Linked DNA regions of Homo sapiens: region 2 is linked to region 1. Evidence: promoter capture Hi-C in 16 types of primary human blood cells and fetal thymus (Javierre and others, 2016). All regions are on one chromosome and are shown on one strand. The core of a region is centred on a gene start or on the middle of the fragment in contact, and the rest is flanking DNA. Distances in the headings are between cores, read along the strand shown.

Evidence for each region. Contacts are between HindIII fragments. The CHiCAGO score rates a contact against its expected background, and 5 or more counts as called.
Region 2: the fragment with the promoter of CNKSR1 here is called in contact with the fragment with the promoter of HMGN2 in region 1 in 2 of 17 cell types (M2 macrophages and total CD4 T cells); the score reaches 6.3 in M2 macrophages.

The regions. Positions count from the first base shown.
Region 1 is chr1:26,468,102-26,475,440 of GRCh38, forward strand. HMGN2 (high mobility group nucleosomal binding domain 2) reads left to right here and starts at 4,339. Exons shown (of 6, transcript NM_005517.4): 1 at 4,339-4,526; 2 at 5,382-5,426; 3 at 5,602-5,631; 4 at 5,984-6,034; 5 at 6,471-6,566; 6 at 7,012-7,339. The coding sequence starts at 4,512. The coding sequence ends at 7,047. It overlaps DHDDS (dehydrodolichyl diphosphate synthase subunit), which reads left to right. Exons shown (of 9, transcript NM_205861.3): 9 at 794-3,205. The coding sequence ends at 1,030. RefSeq lists enhancers at 2,946-3,654, 3,655-4,364 and silencers at 3,734-4,149, 4,034-4,303, 4,564-4,853, 4,894-5,063. The HindIII fragment of the contact is 7,205 bases long and covers 2,003-7,339 here.
Region 2 is chr1:26,174,103-26,180,876 of GRCh38, forward strand. It overlaps CNKSR1 (connector enhancer of kinase suppressor of Ras 1), which reads left to right and starts at 3,389. Exons shown (of 21, transcript NM_006314.3): 1 at 3,389-3,497; 2 at 6,351-6,508; 3 at 6,613-6,774. The coding sequence starts at 3,446. The HindIII fragment of the contact is 21,071 bases long and covers 1-6,774 here.

The DNA of each region.
Region 1 (7,339 bases), core at 3,089-5,588:
GCTCTCAAACTTCCAAGGGCTTATTTTCTAACAGAAAGAGTGGATTGTGAACACTAACACTTATTCTACTATGCAGAATGCAATAAGTGGCTTAAGAGAGTTGAACCTGCTTCTCAGAATGTTCATAGGGGGGTCATTTGCTGGAAGGATCAGGCTGGTCTTCATACAGGAGGCAAGTCTGGAGCTCTGAAAAATAGCCTAGGGAGTGGGGAGGATGGTACCCTCAGAGGAAAACCTGGGGAGATCAAAGGAAGTGACCCAAGGGACATGTCCCCGACAAGAATAGGACCTTTCTTGCAGCGGAGAATAGACAATAACAACTTGTAAAATTGCTGTTTCTGTCTAAGAGCCTGCTAATATCCTAGAGAGGATTTTGCATATGTTATCTCTAATCCTTAAAACCACTCTTCAAGGTAGGCACAACCCCCACTTTACAGATGAAGAAATGAGGTTAGGACAGGATTTGCCCAAAGACACAAAGCCAGTTGATGGGGGAATCAGAAGTCAGACCCACATTTGTTTGGTTCCAAGAGCATGAGAAAAACTTTAAGAAGTACAGACGCTTCCACACAAAACAAACCAAGATGGACCCAGAATTGCCACTGCCCTGCCTGTACAACATGAGCACCACCCACTGCATACCTACTCCCAAGCCTTTTCAAATCTGGTACCTACTTTCCACTGTTCCACTTCACTTGGCCCACCCTGTGCCCCACCCCCTACCTCCTCCATCCCAGTTTCACCCACTCCTAAAAATGATCTCCCCACCCCAATCCCCACTTTTCTCTAGCAGAAGGCCCGAGACATGTATGCAGAGGAGCGGAAGAGGCAGCAGCTGGAGAGGGACCAGGCTACAGTGACAGAGCAGCTGCTGCGAGAGGGGCTCCAAGCCAGTGGGGACGCCCAGCTCCGAAGGACACGCTTGCACAAACTCTCGGCCAGACGGGAAGAGCGAGTCCAAGGCTTCCTGCAGGCCTTGGAACTCAAGCGAGCTGACTGGCTGGCCCGTCTGGGCACTGCATCAGCCTGAATGAGGCTGGCCACCTGCCACTTTGCCCTGCCCTCTGCCTCCAGGGCTCCACTCCCCTTCCTTTTCTTGGTGAAAGGCACCTCCTTTCCTGATAATGAATGGTGTTCCCTTTGCTTGGCTGGGGAGCCCCCCAGGCCAGGTTTGCTGGCCATAGATACCTTTGGGCTGCCTGGGACAGGCTCCTGAGGAGGATTGAGGGTGAAAGTCTCCCACGAGTACACTAAACCTAGGTCTGGTCACCAATAGGGTTTGGAGAGCAAAGGGCCACAACTCATCAGCTGCCTGTCTCTTAGATGCACTTTCTTTTTCCACCAGCACATCCTTCAACACACAGAATTTCAGGGAAGAGTTCTCCCCAAAACCCTAGCTCTTTACCCTTCCATTTTAGCCTTCCACCCAGCTTCCACAAAAGATTTGGCTCTACCTTGGATCTGCTAGTAAATAACTAATAGGCAGGCAGTTATTTGGGTAAGGAAAAAAGGGGTGGGAGAGACAGAAAATTTGCCCATCTGCTGCTCCTCCCCCTTGGCTCTCCACCTGGGATTTGCTATTGAATCTCTACCCTCTCCCACCACACAGTACTGATTGCTCACTGAAAGACTCAGCACCCCCAATGGTGCGCGGAAGCCAGGCGGGCGATTACAATCCAATTACCTATTGTCGACTCAGCCCACACAAGCTTTTCTCCTCCTCTTGCAGGGCATGGGGCCAGGCTCCACTCCCAAATGAGACTGGCCCCCTCCATGGTTCAGGGTAACAGAAGGGCCTGTAGGCCCTGGTGAACTGAATCCAGCACAGGCCTCCCCTGTAACACAACAGGACTGAGCAGAACCAAACACTTCTTCCAACTGACTCTGCTCCCTGCCCTCACCATCTCAAACTCTGATTCCCACTCCACTCTTCGAGGTTTCTCTCAGCTTTTTGACCTGGCTCCCTAAGTAGGCCCTAGATGATTTATTCTTGGCATGGCAAAGCTTGTTCTAGGTCCTCTGCTTGTGAGGGTCAAAGCTGTGTCCTTTCCCTTACCTCCCTCTGCCAGGACTTGCTGCAGAGCTGCTGAGAGGATTAGTGCCTTTGAAGAGCTGTCTGCCTGAGCAACTCTATTTCAGGTGCCCCACACCGGCAAGTACCAGCCAGCAACACCAACCAAATGCTACTCTCTTTAAAGTCCATTTTCCTTCTTCTTTTTTTTTTTTTTTTTGGAGACAGCATCTCACCCTGTCCTGGCTGGTCTCGAACTCCTGACCTCAGGTGATCCGCCGGCCTCACCCTCCCAAAGTGCTGGGATTACAGGCATGAGCCACCATGCCAGACTTCCCATTTTACTTTCTGCAAGCTGTTTCCCTAGCAGCTCCCTCTAGGGGAGAGGTGAAATCTTGCAAGTTGTAGCAAGAGCACACAGGAAACCCCTAACTTTCCTATACCCCACCCGCCTCTTCCCCTTTCTGTCCCGGGATACCTGGCGGCAAGAGACTTCTTGGCTATTGTCCATGCTCCCAGAATCAAGCATAAATGCCAGACACGGCGATTGAGAAGCCAATCAGTGAACCCTTTGGCAAAGCCCCCATCCACACCTGGCACTCCCCTCTACCAATCCCTGGCACAGGGTTCCTGGAGAGCAGGTGCTGTACATTTTACAGCTTTACAATGGGGCTGTTGACAGCCATAATTAGGGAGGCATGAATTATGCGGCTATAATGCAGAGCCCTACAATTAAGGCGGGAATGAGGGGCTGGAGGCAGCAAACGGAATCTGCCCTATGAGCGTGGCTGTTGAGTCCTGTCTCCTGGGTCTGACTTTCCGTAATATGATTGGGGTACAGTAGAGGTGATTAATGGGGCTGGCATCTCTCTTTGGCCTGAGGTTCTGTATTCTGGGAAAGGTACACAGGGTGGAGTAGGGAGAAGCTGCCCCAGGAGGCGATGTAGTGGTGGAAAGAAGAGGCAGAGAGGTCGTCGTCGTCGCCCAGCAGCAAGGGCTGCAAAATAGTAGAACTCGTGGTTGCTTTGGACAGGTGTGATTTGTGCAAGCCAGGTTCAACCCTTGCCTCAAGAAATCAGATGGGACCAATTTAGTGTCCTTCCACCTGTGAGCCAAGCCCCCATTTGAGGACATCTATCGTATTCTTGTGTGCTGGGTCTCAAATAGAATTTTTAAAGATTCTTAGATGTAAAACTTGTTTGCTAACTGCAACGGAAGAACACCTTCTTTTGCTGCTGCAATTGCCTACCCTCCCTCAGGTGCACTTGGCTAGCTCCAAGACCCTGGCTTTGGACTAGGGGGCACCGGAAGAGCCCTTTTGCCATCACACCACCTGTTCCTCTACTTGTTTCCTAATCCCCGGGCGCTTTCCTCCACCCTCCTTTCCTCGCGCAAGTGAAAGGCAGCCAGCTTGACAGTGTGGAAGGAGGGATTTCGCCAGCTGCGGCTGCAGTGCCCAGGCTTGGTGGCCGCGTCGGGTTGGGCAGCTGGGCAAAATGTCTCCGAGAGGGGTAGAGTGTAGGGGGAAGTGAGTGCTGGTAGACCTCGACGGCCGCTCTCCACCATACTGTGGCGGGGTCTGGAGGTTTGGGAATACAGGGACCTTAAGGGAGCCACCCGAGAGGAGTTGGGGGTGGGGGCTTCGATAGCATTTGGGGAGGCGGCTGCGCAACGGGTGCTGAAAGGACAGCTCCTACCTGACCCACGGCACCCAAAAGGCACCTCTGCATGGAAAGTCTCCCCCTGAAACCCCTAGCCCACCTCGAGTGGGACCGTCTTTCAGGTGAGGTGCACGAAAGGCTTCTCCGAAGTGGCAGCTCGGAAGGATGCACGTCCGGCTGCGCCAAGCTGGTTTCCCCGCCTTTTTCCCACTTTGGCGTCAGCCTGGGCTCTGGGAACTGCAGCCTGTGCCTCCAGCCGCGCGCTTCCTCCTGCTTCCAGAGGAGCAGGGCAGTGCAGCCAGGCCTCGCAAACCCCTCTTCTGGGGCCCCCAGCGGGAGCAGGAAGGAAAGCCGCTGAGATGCGCCGTGAGTGTCGCACGGCTTGGAGAAGTGGGTTGCTGGGTTGCATAAGGTGGAAGGAACTTGCTAGTTTGCAAAAGACAGCTCTTGGCGGGAGCCGGAACCCGGAGCCCGCCGACTCGCGCACCCCTCCTCATTTACTGCCTTCGACGCGCGCCACCCCGACTGCGCCCCCACCCCCTCGGCGCGCCGCCGTCTCCGCGCACTACCCCCCCCACACACCCCCCTCCTCACTCCCTCCAGAGGAGGTGAGTTTAAACCCCGCCCACGTGACCCCAGCTGGGCCAATGAACGGCGGCGGGAGGTGAAATCCGGTTCTAACCGGTCCGGGGCTCCCAGCGCTATAAAAACTTTATAAACCCCCCGGAGCCCGAGCAGTGTGAAGAAGAGGCGAGAACGACCCCCGGACCGACCAAAGCCCGCGCGCCGCTGCATCCCGCGTCCAGCACCTACGTCCCGCTGCCGTCGCCGCCGCCACCATGCCCAAGAGAAAGGTACGTGGCGCGAGGGCCCCAGGCGCCGGGCCACCACTGCCGCCACCGCCGCCGCCGCCTCCCTGGTGCAGGGAGCGAGAATCGGCGCCGAGCAGGAGCCAGCGCAGCCTCCCCGCGCGGGGGCTGGAGACGGTGTCGGGCAGCTCGGGGCTAACCCTGAGCGGCTCGGCTGCCCGCGGGCGCCAGAGGCCATATTGGAGGAGCGGCGGCCGCGGCGGGAGGAGCCATGTTGGCGGCTGTTTATCCCGCTCTCCTCGGGCTCGCCGCCCCCGCCCCGTGCCCCCTCCCCCATCGCGAGGGCCCCTTCCCTCCCCTCCCTGCGGGCGGGCAATTCAAACCCGAAAGGGCGGGAAGGCGGCGCTCGGGGTTGGCGGGCGGGGGAAAGCGCTGCCGCCAAAAAACCGCCGCCGTGAGGGGCGGGGCTTGTGCGGTATGGCCCCGCCCCCTCGCCCACGTTCCCCGCGCACGAGACGCGCGCTGTCGCCGCCCACGAGTTCCCCGGGCTGCGCGCGCCTCCCTCTCCCGCCCTCGACGGCTGCCATAGCAACGGCGCTGGGCTCCGCCTCCGGAGGGGGTTTGTTTGCGCCATCTGCAGCTGTTGCTCCTGCCTGTCGCGGTGGTGCGGGCTCCGCTGCCCTCCCCGGCTGCGCTCCGGTCCAGCCCTCGCTTCTCGGGGTCGGCGAGCCGGAGCTCCTGCGCGCGCTTCGTTCTTATACGAACGTCGGGCTCACTCATTTATGTCCTAGAAAAGTTGTGTGGACGACTGCTTTAATTTTCATTTTTAGCACTCTAAAGTTTGGGAAGTAATTAAGAACCACCTCAAAATCTGCAGTTTTTTGTTCTTGTTTCTTATAGGCTGAAGGGGATGCTAAGGGAGATAAAGCAAAGGTGAAGGACGAAGTAAGTCATTCTCTCTTCAAGGGTCAAAGCCTTGGACTAGCAGAGGCCACTGGACTCGGTGATTAACCGTAACCTGTGTCCTGAATTTACACTCCTATAATCTAGAGCAAATTGATACCAAACTTTCAAAGCGACTTACCTGTCCTATTTCTAACTTTCTCGTTGTCTTTAATAGCCACAGAGAAGATCCGCGAGGTTGTCTGCTGTAAGTGTATGCTTTTGAATTTTCGTGCTTGTCCCTGAAACTAAAAAACATCAAAAAACAATTCCCTTTGCTTCCATGAATTATGGTTAGTGCCTGGTTTTGAATCATTGCCTCTACTTGGGACTCTTGCCCCTTTGGGTTTTGCTGGTTCTGAAATTCTGATGCCTGTAGCCAAAGTGGGACATTTGAGTGGGCTTCTGGAAATCCAACATTCTAGAAGAAAGCCAACCACAAAAACTTTTGAGGAGGAGGAGAAACTTCTCTACCCTTGGTACTTTTGGTTGGTTGTGGGTGGTTTTCTTCAGTCCATTGTACTGATGTTCACTTTTTCCTCTCTTCCTGCCAAAAAAAGAAACCTGCTCCTCCAAAGCCAGAGCCCAAGCCTAAAAAGGCCCCTGCAAAGGTAAGTGCTAACATTGGAACTGATCATTTTCACAGAATGAGGACTGTCCTTAGTGCCTTAACTTAATTAGCATAATGGTGCCTCCATTAATGGAGGTTATAAACTGTGTGGATAGCTTACCTCGTCCGTGTCATTCATAACGTTGGTTTCCTGATCAAGAATTCTGTTGTTAGTTTATAGGAAAATCTGCATTTAAATATTAAATACCCCAGGGTTTAAACTAATTTATTCTTCTGTTACTTAGGAAATTCTAAGTACTAAAGATTATAGCAAATTACAGATAATTTAGCCTAGTTTTGATCAGTTGTTCTTGTCAAATGGGTGAGGGTTTGTGTTTTATCTTGAGTAAACAATCCTACCTTGTGCAGAACTTTGCAGACCATACCTTGGTAATACGAAATGGGGAGAAACAGTTCTATTTTTTCCCCTTTTTCAGAAGGGAGAGAAGGTACCCAAAGGGAAAAAGGGAAAAGCTGATGCTGGCAAGGAGGGGAATAACCCTGCAGAAAATGGAGATGCCAAAACAGACCAGGTATAACTGCTGTTTCACCCTTTGTTAGATTTGTTCATTCAGTTAGTTGCTGATATCAAAAATTTAATTGCCCTTTTCTTGTATCACTCCAAATGTACCATTTGGTCCAGTGTGCTTGTGGCTTTCCTGTTAACTTAAATCCTGGATTCTTGAAATCTCTACTGTCAGCTGAAGGGCATTGTGTTTTATACTACATGAAGTTTTCAAGCTAGGAGTAACCTCAGGTCTCTTATTCTGGTGTTCTTCCTACCTCAATTTTACAGTGAGGCCCAGAGGAGAGGTGACTTAGCAAAGTTACCTAGTAAGTCATTCTCAGAAGAAATACTGAGTCTCAGTACCTGAAACCTGAACTTTGGCCTGGGAGCAAAGTGATGCTGTAGGTGGAATGTGAACACAGATAGTTTTGAAATCTACGCATTGCATTAATTTGTCTGTTTTCTTTTAGGCACAGAAAGCTGAAGGTGCTGGAGATGCCAAGTGAAGTGTGTGCATTTTTGATAACTGTGTACTTCTGGTGACTGTACAGTTTGAAATACTATTTTTTATCAAGTTTTATAAAAATGCAGAATTTTGTTTTACTTTTTTTTTTTTTTTAAAAGCTATGTTGTTAGCACACAGAACACTTCATTGTTGTTTTTGGGGGAAGGGGCATATGTCACTAATAGAATGTCTCCAAAGCTGGATTGATGTGGAGAAAACACCTTTCCCTTCTAGTTTTGAGAGACTTCCTCTTGGCTCCCAGGAGGAGGGATTCCCTGACTTTGACACACATG
Region 2 (6,774 bases), core at 2,139-4,638, 290 kb before region 1:
GACGGGCATTTTGCAAATTTGAAGCCAACTGGCTCACAAAATGAAAGAGGCTGTTAATACCAAGTGTGAAGGTGGGATGGCATCACCAGAGCTGGCCAAGTTCAGAGAAGCTGGAAATCTCAATTTGGATGTGACGTTATTAAATGATGACAACACACGTACACTACATGGGCCAACCATGGGCGAAATTCAGACTTTGGGTCTCTGGGTTACAGGTAAGGTCGTGACAGGCTTTGATGACTGGGGGTGCTGCAGAAATTCTGAAGTAGGTGACAACAGGTAGCTCCTCCCCACAGAATTAAAGCAATAATAACTCATATCTACCCCATGATACAGATTTCAAAGTACTTAATGTCATCACAGTGCTAAGGCCTAGGAATCCCCTTCTGGAGACAAAGAAACAGATTCAGAGAGCTGTAGAAGTTGGGCTGAGTCACATAGCAGTTGAGTATGGAACTGATTTTATCTGATTTTTTTTTTTTTTGAGACAGAGTTTTGCTCTTGTTGCCCAGGTTGGAGTGCAGTGGCGCAATCTCGGCTCACTGCAACCTCTGCTTCCGGGTTCAAGCAATTCTCCTGTCTCAGCCTTCCGAGTTGCTGGGATTATAGGCGCCCGCCACCACGACCGGCTAATTTTTTGGATTTTTAGTACAGACAGGGCTTCTCTATGTTGGCCAGGCTGATCTCGAACTCCTGACCTCAGATGATCCACCCGCCTTGGCCTCCCAAAGTGCTGGGATTACAGGCATGAGCCACCGCGCCCGGCCTTTTTTTTTTTGAGGTGGAGTTTCACTTTTGTTGCCCAGGCTGGAGTGCAATGACGCGATCTCAGCTCACCGCTACCTCTACCTCATGAGTTCAAGCAATTCTCCTGCCTCAGCCTCCCGAGTACCTGGGATTACAGGCATGTGCCACCACACCCGGCTAATTTTGTATTTTTAGTAGAGATGGGGTTGCTCCATGTTGGTCAGGCTGGTCTCGAACTCCTGACCTCAGGTGATCCGCCCGCATAGGTCTCCTGAAGTGCTGGGATTACAGGCCTGAGCCACCACGCCCGGCTGATTTTATCTGATTCTAAAGTCCTGGGAGTCCCCTGACCTGATGATGATGATGAAAATGAACATTTACTATGTGTCAGATATTTTTCTAAGATTAAAGCTCTTGCTCTGAGGTTCAGAATTCAGGGGATCCATAAACTTGGATGGGAAAAAATTATATTTTTATTTTTGCTAAACTCTAACCAAAATTTATGATTTCCTTCTATATGGATTGAAGCAGTAGCAGTATCTTTGGCTTAGTCACCAATAGAAATCACATATTTTCATATCAAATTGTAGTTATTGCAAGTATCTCAAAATATTTATGCTCAAGTGATTTCAAAATCACAGTGGTTGTTAAACCACCACTAAATTGTTCGTGAGCAACTTCTGTTTCAGATGCTCCTGTGATGTAGCCGCCATTAATTGGTTACCTCCAGGCTTAGCAGTGGTTCAGTGACCAAAGGGCGAATCTGCCTGTTCTGAGTAGGGCTTCTCCACTCTTCTGCATTCCCTGTCTTTTTTTTTTTTTTTTTGAGACGAAGTCTTGCTCTGTCGCCCAGGCTAGAGTGCAGTGGCGCGAACTCGGCTCACTGCAAGCTCTGCCTCCTGGGTTCACGCCATTCTCCTGCCTCAGCCTCCTGAGTAGCTGGGACTACAGGCGCCCGCCACCATGCCTGGCTAATTTTTTGTATTTTTAGTAGAGACGGGGTTTCACCATGTTAGCCAGGATGGTCTCGATCTCCTGACCTCATAATCCGCCCGTCTCGATTATAGGCGTGAGCCACCATGCCCGGCCCAGCATTCCCTGTTTTTAGTTGTTTGCTGATCAATATGTAAGAGGAGGGGCGTCAAAGACCACCCCACAGTTTAATGTCCTTATTCAAGCTGGTCGACAACACACTGAGGTCATTAAAAAAGAAAAATTTAACTTTCGGCCAGTCTTATTAATGTTAGTAAACACATAATATAAATTTCTGGTTTTATTTTTTTGAGATGGGCTCCTGCTATGTTGCCCAGGGTGGCTTTGACTCCTGGGCTTGAGTGATACTCCCCCGCTCAACCTCTCAACCTCTCGAGTAGCTGGGACTACAGTCGTGTGCCAGCACTCCCCAGCTCCAAATTTTTTTTTTGTTTTTTGTGGGTTTTTTTTTTGAGACGGAGTCTTGCTTTGTTGCCAGGCTGGAGTGCAGAGGCGTGATCTCAGCTCACTGCAACCTCCGCCTCCCAGGTTCAAGCGATTCTCCTGCCTCAGCCTCCTGAGTAGCTGTGACTACAGGCGTGCACCACCACACCCAGCTAATTTTTGTATTTTTAGTAGAGACGGGGTTTCACCATGTTGGGCAGGCTGGTTTCCATCTCTTAACCTCATGATCCACCCGCCTTGGCCTTCCAAAGTGCTGGAATTACAGGCGTGAACCACCATGCCCGGCCAAATTTGTTTTTAAATATAGTTTTGATAATTGTTCTCATTGTAATCCTAAGCATTTTGTTTTGTGCATTTATTTATTTATTTATAATACAGAGTTTTGCTCTGTTGCCCAGGCTGGAGTGCAGTGGCACGATCTTGGCTCACTGGAACCTCCCCCTCCTGGGTTCAAGGGATTCTCCTGCCTCAGCCTCCTGAGTAGCTGGGATTACAAGCACCCACTACGCCCAGCTAATTTTTTGTATTTTTAGTAGAGATGGTGTTTCACCATATTGGCCAGGCTGGTCTTGAACTCCTGATCTCAAGTGATCCGCCCACCTCGGCCTCCCAAAGTGCTGGGATTACAGGCGTGAGCCACCGCGCCCGGCCTGTTTTATGCCTTTATAAGCAGCTATTCTGAGAAAGCATTCACAGGCCTCACCAGATGCCAGAGTCCATACTGCAAAATCCAAGGGAGGCTAAACACCCCAGTTCTAAATGTTTTCAAGCCATTCAGATACTGTGCACAGCTGCCCTTTGAAGTACGGTCTATTATATCTCTTTTACAGACCCAGAAACTGAGGCGCAGAAGTTAGGGTCAGCCCCAGGTCACACAGCTAACAAGAGCTGGCCTAGGCACCCAGGGACCTGGCCCCCTAGCCTCTGTGCTTTGCTACTGATTTCAGCGCTCCTCTTGTGGCTTTTTCTTGAGGAGCCCAAGGGTCAGGGTCCCACCCCGCGATATGAGGCCAGTGGCACTGCCCCCTAGCAGGCGCGAGATGCCAGAGCCCTAGGATGTCTGAAGGGCCGGGCAGGAGGCGGACGGGCGTGGGCCAATGGCTGTCGCAGTGCCTCATCTTGCCGTCTGTGTGAGCCCAGGTATGCAGTAGGCTCCGCCCAGGACCCAGCCCGGCCCCTCCTTAGGCCTGGGCTCTGGGAGCGGAAATTCCGGCGACAGCAGGGCAAAACAGGAGCTGATTCGAGCTGGCAGAGCTGGGCCATGGAACCGGTAGAGACCTGGACCCCCGGAAAGGTGGCAACTTGGCTGAGAGGTGGGTGGGGCTGGGGTAGAGTTGGGCTTGAAGGGGACTAGGTGTGGTGTCCCACCGGGAAGCGGGAGGAGAGGAAAAGGAAAAAAAATCTGCGGACTGGGTGCGCTGGTTCACACCTGTAATCCCAGCACTTTGGGAAGCCAAGGTGGGTGGGTCACCTGAGGTCGGGAGTTCAAGACCAGCATGGTGAAACCCCGTCTCTACTAAAAATACAAAAATTATCTGGGGGTGGTGGCAGGTGCCTGTAATCCCAGCTACTTGGGAGGCTGAGGCAGGAGAATCGCTTGAACCCAGGAGGCAGAGGTTACAGTGAGCCGAGATTGCACCGCTGCACTCCAGTCTGGACGACAGAGCGAGATTCAGCTCAAAAGAAAAAAAAAAATAATAAACTGCGGGCTCTATCAGTCGGTCAGTCAGTCAACAAATATTTACAGAGCACCTAACATGTTCCAGGAACCGTGCTGGGCAGAGAGACAGATGAGATGACCCTGGGGGGCCCAAGGACCCAGAAGGGGGCCCCTCATCATGGCAGTAGCCCAAGAGGCCTCTAGGGTGATAATGGGGAGGCGGTGTCATGAAAACAGGAGGGAGGCCTGACAGGCCCACACCCACTGTATCTCCTTCATCTTCCCTGGCCCCAGGGCCAGTGGGCTGTTGTTAAATCCGTTTCTTAGAGTCAGAAACTGACACACAGAGCCAGGAAATGATTTGCTCAGTCTCTGGTGTCATTTTCCCCGCTCCACACCCTGAGCTCCTAGTGACAGAAGCAGAAGCCCTAGGCCAGACTGAAGAGGTTGACACAGCCCCACCCTGGGGCTCCTATCCAAGGGGCAAGGTGCTGTCCAGGCTCAGCGAGCCCACACAGATGGGAAGCAACACACCCCACAGGCAGACTCAGAGAAGGAAGGGCCTCCTGACACACAGTGCGACCAGGAGCAGGCAGTCAGGACACCCCTCCCAGAGTGGGGAGCTGGAGCGCACTAGAGACAGGCTCAGGAGGACCAGCCCGGGTAAGGGCAGGAATTCAGGGCTGGGTTCAGACTCCCAGGCTGGATTCCAGGCCCACCCCCACCGCTTGCCAGCTCTGTGACCATAGGTCTTAGTTTTTCTGTCCATCAAATGGGAAAGGCAACTCTGACCTTATGAAGTCGACAAAGTGAGACAATCATGACATAGTTCATTTGTAGCTCAATGCCTGGGTCTATTGGGAGGGCACCAGCCCAATACAGTCACCGTGCAGGAAGGAGGTGGCTCAGGGGCCCATAGCCAGGGAGTGATAGGTTCATGAACTCCCAGTCCAGTGCTCTCAATGTGACACAGGGAACACACACACACACCTCCCCCAGTGAAGGAGCCTGGCTTAGAAGGGGAAGAATTCCTTCGAAGAGTGAGCAAGCTACTTAACCTCTGTGTCAGTTTTCCCATCTGTAAGCAGGATAATGATAGTCTTTACCTCCTAGAAATGCAGTGAGAATCAAATGTGTTAATATGTGTAAAGCTCTTATAGATTTGCATAGCACATAGTAAGCCCTCAATAGACACTTTTCTTATTTTTCAGTGCCTACCTTGTCCAGGCACAGGCCGGGGGTTAGAGACAAATGGTTATCTAAGGCCTGATCTTTGAAGAGCCTGTGATAAAATGGGAAAGACCGATGGTCAAGTGCAGGGGTTTGTGGAGGCTCAGGGGCAGTGGGAACAAGAGGAGAGCCCTCCATCCCACTCAGCCTGGGAAGTTATGGAAGGCTTCCTGGAGGAAGTTAGATGAAAAAGGAAGTGAAGGAGATAGAAGAGCAACGCCAGCAGGAGGAATAGCACTTGCAAGGACGCTGAGGTAAAAGGGTGTTCCAGGAGCTGCAAGGAATTAGCTCTGTGCATCTGAAATGTTGAGTTTAGGGGGCTCTTCAGGATATGATGCTGGAAAGGGAGGTAGTAGCCTAATCATACAGGGCCTGTAGGTCATGGTAAAGTCTGGCAATAATAATATGATGGCTATTATTGGCTGTCTCCCACGAACCAGACAGTGGCCAAGGCCTTGACATATGTTGTGTCATTCAATACACACATGATTAGAAGGTAGGTACTTTTATTATTCTCACATTACAGGTGAGAAAACTGGGCACAGAGCAGTGCTATTACTTGCTCAAGTGTTCACAGTGTCTCAGTGACTCCATAGCCTCTTGTTCTTATCCCCTGTATCATTAGTTCTCAAACTTAAGGGAGCATCACAGTCACCTGCATTAAAATACAAACTGCTGGCTGGGCGTCGTGGCTCACACCTGTAATTCTAGCACTTTCAGAGACTGAGGCAGTCAAATTGCTTGAGCCCAGGAGTTCGAGACTAGCCTGGGCAACATGGTGAAATCCCACCTCTGCAAAAAATACAAAAATTAGCTGGGTGTGGTGGTGTGTGCCTGTAGTCCCAGCTACTTGGGAGGCTGAGGTGGGAGGATGGATTGAGCCTAGGAGGTCAAGGCTGCAGTGAGCCGTGACTGTGTCTCAAGCCCCTGTCTCAAAAAGAAAAAACAAAACAAAAACAAAAAAAAGACTGCTGGGCCCCAACCTCAGAGTTTCTGATTCAGCAGGTGTGGGGTGAGGCCTGATAATTTGCATTTCTAACAAGTTCTCCGGTGAGTCTGCTGCTGCTGGTCTGGGGGCCACTTTTAAGAACCCATGTCCTATACTTTCCTGCTTCTCAACTCAGTGGCCTCATCTGTGAAATGGGCAGAACAGCCTGGGTGTCAGAGTTGTCATTAGGGTTAGACTAGAGGGAAAAGAGCTTTGCAGGCATGAAGAACCATCCCAAAAGGTCCTGACACCTCTGCTTCCCCGAGCTGAGCCTTACTCTCCCTCCAGGTCTTGACGACTCCCTGCAGGACTATCCCTTTGAGGACTGGCAGCTGCCTGGCAAGAACCTGCTCCAGCTCTGCCCCCAAAGCCTCGAGGCTCTGGCTGTGCGGTCTCTGGGACACCAGGAGCTCATCCTGGGCGGGGTGGAACAGCTCCAGGCCCTGGTGAGTGAATGCTGGTCACACTGGCTGCAGCTTCCACCAACCTGGGGGGTGTGATGGGGGGCTGGCTGCTGCCAGGGAGGTGACTTGCCCTCTTTCTGGCACAGAGCTCCAGGCTACAGACAGAGAACCTGCAAAGCCTGACAGAGGGACTTCTGGGGGCAACCCATGACTTCCAGAGCATAGTCCAAGGCTGCCTGGGGGACTGTGCCAAGACCCCTATTGATGTCCTCTGTGCAGCTGTGGAGCTGTTGCATGAAGCTGACGCC